2 separate regions of the Homo sapiens genome follow, and region 1 is linked to region 2. Evidence: promoter capture Hi-C in 16 types of primary human blood cells and fetal thymus (Javierre and others, 2016). All regions are on one chromosome and are shown on one strand. Each heading gives the region's core, a stretch centred on a gene start or on the middle of the fragment in contact. The rest is flanking DNA. Distances are from core to core; before and after follow the strand shown.

The links. The method cuts DNA at HindIII sites, captures the fragments that hold promoters and counts their contacts. A CHiCAGO score of 5 or more calls a contact.
Region 1: a contact is called between a fragment that was not itself captured here and the fragment with the promoter of ADGRG7 in region 2, in 1 of 17 cell types (naive CD4 T cells). The highest score is 5.2, in naive CD4 T cells.

Annotation. Positions count from the first base shown.
Region 1 is chr3:100,305,696-100,308,395 of GRCh38, forward strand. TBC1D23 (TBC1 domain family member 23) reads left to right here. Exons shown (of 19, transcript NM_001199198.3): 13 at 742-848. Among named protein-coding and RNA genes, the nearest start is that of NIT2, 28 kb to the right of the region's middle. The HindIII fragment of the contact is 2,123 bases long and covers 197-2,319 here.
Region 2 is chr3:100,608,262-100,610,961 of GRCh38, forward strand. ADGRG7 (adhesion G protein-coupled receptor G7) reads left to right here and starts at 1,340. Exons shown (of 16, transcript NM_032787.3): 1 at 1,340-1,710. The coding sequence starts at 1,596. The HindIII fragment of the contact is 7,171 bases long and covers 1-2,508 here.

The sequences.
Region 1 (2,700 bases), core at 8-2,507, 300 kb before region 2:
CTGGTCATTGTTGATATTAACAAGGATTATGATTATCTTCTGTATATCATGACCTGATAACTAATGACTTTTGAGGTTCATACCCAGAGTGATGTACAAAAGGGGTTATTTTAATAAGTAGTGTTAAACATGTATTGGCCCTAGGCTCAGTGTTATTTATTAGGAATCCTGGTAACGATATAAAACTTGATTATTAAGCTTGTAATTCTCAAAAGTGTCTGAAAAGCATTCTTTTATAGTATAACCCAGATTTTAGAAAATTTTTTAAAACCATGAAGTATTTCTTTACCAAGAATAATCTCTCTTTCCGTAACTGTTAATGGCTAACAATGCTTCTTTATTATGGGAGAGATTGATTGATATCTCCTTATGGTATAACAAAAGTCACAATCGGTTTTCTGTTATCCTTTATGTCATAAAAATGTTGCAGAAATTATCTGTTAATACTTGAAAGATTTCCTTTCAAAGAAGAAAACGTAAAGCCTATACAGTTATCATCACATTGGCGTCAGTTAAGAAAAGTTATCCGTGTACAGAGGGTTTTAGAAGGAAGAATAGGAAGGTTTGCTCTAGCTTGGAGGCCTTTACTCCTTTACAGACGTGCAGAAAGAAATACCTGTGATTATTTCCTTCAGTCCTTTTTTCTCAGCTGTGACATGTTTATTGTATTTCGTTGGTAATGAATTTTTCCAAAGAGTGTTGATATTTTAGGTTTTTCTTTTTTTTTTAATTTATCTTAAGCACTGCAGCAGCACCTGGCAGACATTAATGTGGATGGACCAGAAAATGGATATGGCCATTGGATTGCTAGTACCTCAGGCTCAAGGAGCAGTATCAATTCTGTTGATGTAAGTATATGTAGAGAATATGTTACCGGATTTGGATAAGTTCCCAGAAAAGGTGATTAACTACTAAACCCCCACCATAACAGAAATGGAGTCAAAACATTTCAAACACATGCAATGAAGAGTCATATTATTGTGAGATTAATGAGATGATACAGCAAGCCATTATTTATTGTGAGATTAATGAAATGATACAGCAAGCCTTCACAGTTAAACTAGGTGGGAGCTCTTGAAGTTCAGCTGCTGAATTCAAATTTCTCCCTGTCCAGCTGTAGTTTGGTATCATGTAGTGACAGTTTTATGTTCCAGCTTAAATATCAATGGGGACAAATCTGGGTCCTGTAAATAGCTGGGACTCTTAAGCAAGCTGATTCCAGGCATCTCCCAGTTAGTTTTTGCCAGAATACTAGGGCTCATAATCATCTCGTGCACACTATGTCTGTACCCATCCCCATCACAGACTTAAATGATTTGGACTTGAGTCTATCCACATTTGAGAATTGGCCAGGCAGAGGAAGACAAGAACAAGTTGCCAATCCTATTTTATTTGATTTTTAGTTATTGAGATGTGTATTACTACCCAGTTTTGCTACAGTGGATAAATCTGTTTTTCTGTTCTTTGGAAATATTTGGGTAATAGGTCTTTTGTGCTTTTCCAGTACTTCAATATTTCATGTCAGTTGAATTAGATGTCATTAAATTATTCATAAATAATGGTCCTCACATACCTAGTGATTATTCTTTAAAACAGAAATAGAAGGAAAACTGCAGTACAAGGTCACAGTTAGTAGCTTGGGCTTACAGGTCTGACATACCTGGGTTCAGATTTCATCTACAACTTACTTTCTTCATGATCTCCAGCAAGATCTTTGAGCTGTGGTTTCTCCACCTGTGGAATATAAATGTTAACAACATAACCTTCTTTCTAAGGATAACTTGAGAATTAACAGTGCAAGTAAATGGAAAGTATAGTACCTGTCACCAGATATTTAATAGTAGTTATTACGAAATTGTAACTCACTACCTGTGTTAGTTGAGGTTTATCTTCAGCCATGCAAATCAAAATCAGATTATTTTCACATCAGCAGATAAGGTTTGTCTGAGAATCTTATTTTTAATTTGATACTCTTATTTTTAACTTGATGCCATTGTGTGAAATCACCATTACTTAGTAAACGTTTGCTATTTTCACTTTAAATAACTAAATAATATTTCATTTTATGGGTGTATTATAATTTATTCAGTTCTCTATTGTTCAATATTTACATTGTTTCCAGTTTTTTTCTGTTACAAACACTATTTAATTTTTGTAGTGATAAATTTGCATATGCCATGATTATTTTGTCCTGGAAGTGGAATAACTTGATTAAAATGTTACCAAAGTCCTTAGACTTCTGCATTATTATCAAATGGCTCTCCAAAAAACATTCTAATTTATATTCCCATTCACATCACTGGATAGTTTTTCTATTGAAGCTTTTATATTCAGATTTGAAAAACACTGATTGAGGCTATTTTAGAAATTATCTTAAAGAGCATTCTTTTCAAAGTACCAAAGAATTTTTACAGTTTAATTTGGCTCTGAATTTAGATATGGAAATAGAAACATAATTTTTTTTGTTGTTAATGACATTTCTTCTAAAAATGAAAGTAGGCCGGGCACAGTGGCTCACGCCTGTAATCCCAGTACTTTGGGAGGCTGAGGCGGGCAGATCACGAGGTCAGGAGATCAAGACCATCCTGGATAACACGGTGAAACCCCGTCTCTACTAAAAATACAAAAAAATAGCCGGGCGTGGTGGCAGGCGCCTGTAGTCCCAGCTGCTCGGGAGGCTGAGGCAGGAGAATGGTGTGA
Region 2 (2,700 bases), core at 90-2,589:
TATGCTATTGTATGTGTTTTGGGCACATTTAAGGTAGGCTAGCCTAAGCAAGGATGTTCAGCAGGTTAGGTGTATATTTAATGCGTTTTGACTTAAGATATTTTTTAACTTAAGGTGGATTTATTGGGATGTAATCTTATTGTAAGTCAAGGAGCACCTGCACTCCATAATAATTAAATATGATGATCTTTTATTTTAGCAGTTATGACTTGCCTTATAGGTGGCTATATCTAGGTATCTCACCCCTGAGAAATTATGAGTTCTTTGAGGACCCTGTTCATGTCTTGTACCAATTCAAACACATTAAAGGCATTTAATATGGATTTGATGAAGCAAGGGAGTGTCCAGAGAAGACCAGAGCATCTGTTCTCTCTACCAAAACAAAACTGTGATTGAGGAGGTGAATGTTCATGTATCTGTTCTTCCCTGTAAGGGTAGAGGGTAGGGAAGGAGAACATGGGAGCCTGGGCAGGAGAGGGTCAGAGCTGCATCTATAGAGAGACACCAGTTTGTAGTTACTCTGATGATGTATTAGTTTCCCAGGGCTGCTCTAATAAAGTACCACAAACTGGGTGGCTTAAACAACATAAATTTGTTGTCTTACAGTTTGGGTGGCTAGAAGTCAAGTCAAGGTGTCAGCAGAGCCAGTTCCTTCTGAGGACTCTCTCTTGTAGATGGCCGTCTTCTCTCTCTGTCTCTTCAGATCATCTTTCTGTATTCATGTCTGTGTTCAGATTTCTTCTTCTTATGAGGACACCAGCCATATTGATTAGTGACCACCCTAACAAACTCGTTTTAACTCGATCACCTCTGCAGTAACCACATCTCCATGTGAGGCCTCATTCTGAGGTACCGAAGGTTAGGACTCCAACATATGAATGTTGGAGGGGACACAATTCAGCCCATAGCAGGTGGGTTATCATGCTGGGCTTTAGTGCTTGTCAAGACCCAGCCTGTGCCAGTATGCACACTCACCAACTGCATCTGTCAAAATGTAGGCTCCTTAAAGAAATGCAAGCGCTAAAAACCATGTGTGGTGATTGCCATTTATCCTCTTATTGACAACCTAGTTCATTTCCCCGAGAGAGTGTTTTGTGTGGTCTGAAGCACCTGCCAGTCTATCTCTGCTGTACCCTCCCAAGACAAAAATACAGGAAGCCGAGCCATAGGTGACTACTGGCAACCACTGCCTTTGTGATTTCCTCTTTGGTTTCTTCTATTTTGTTCCCTTCCTTCACTCTGTGGCTTGTCTGGGCATTCACTCTTTGACCCTTGTGGCTAGTCCCTCCCCTTCTTCTTTATTGCCCTGAGTTATCTCCCTATTCCCATAACTCTAATCACTTTTTTCATGTTCTCCTTGAGTGAAGGATGAGGAAATTGAAAGCAGAGTATGCACCTTTTATTAGGAGATTCAAACTGCATCCTACTGGATTAGCCTCAAAAGTCCTAAAATACAAAGACATCCATCTGACAGATCACTGAGGGGAGGACTTGTTTTTCTGTTTTAGAATAGTTTCCGATTAAACTTTTTAGCTCAAGAAGAAAAGAAGCTAGTTATTTCTCACCCAGGAGTGGATTTGTGGTTTGGCTTCACCATGGCTTCCTGCCGTGCCTGGAACCTTAGGGTGCTGGTGGCTGTCGTGTGTGGACTACTGACTGGCATCATTTTGGGACTGGGCATCTGGAGGATTGTGATCAGGATCCAAAGAGGTAATGTTGTCCTGCTATGTTTAACTCAGAGTAAGAGAAGGTATGGGACCTCTGTCCCTGCCACCTGGTGCACAAGTACTGGGAGGTACCTTGTCCAGTCTGAGGCATTCCACCAAGGTGCCATTTATGGGATATAAAAGACCAAGTCAGTTAAGCCTAGCAGATGGTTGAATAGAAATGAATAGGTGTGGGTGTGAGTGGGCAGGGGGAAGAGTGACATAATTGAATTGGCCTCTTTATGCTCTTTTAACTCCAGACTGAATTGGTAGAAGAGTAATAATTAAAACGATTAGTAACACACATTTAGGTCTGTTTGGCTAAATTCAGGAAAGGGTAAATCGTTATGAACAAGGACACACACATGCATCAAACACATACACACACATGCATAACACACATACAATCAAACATACACAGAATGGAATTTCATTTTAAGAGAGAAGTTAAAGAAACTCATCACTAAGGTTTAAGTGAAATGATCTCATGGTTTGCATACAAATTTCCCACTTTCCAGATGTAGGAAACTAATCAAAAATTTAAAAACCATTTTTAAATGACTTTCCTGATTATTCAACGAACATTTGTTAGTCCCCCGCTGTGTGCCAGAGCTGGCCTGGAAAAGGAGGACGTGGGAGGGGAAGTAGTGAGTAAAACAATGATGTTAAAGAAAAGCCCGCTGGAACTCAGAACGCGAAATTTCAATGATCCTAATGCTGGATCCCTTGGGCTGTAGAGCTTCTCCGTAAAGGAATTCAATGTTGGATGGGCTACATACTCCCTTTCGTGAAAATCAGAGAAAGCTTCTAATGAAACAATAAATAAGGGTAAATAATGCCGATCGGGAAAGGCAGCAGGAGAGGCAGTATGCCCTCTGAGCAGGTAACTGGGGAGGACAGAAGGTTGGGGAGCTAGCAGGAGCATGGAGCATGGCTGCAAAGATCCAGTGTTGAAGACCAACAGAGGGATCTGACATACTGGCTGCTGATGGAG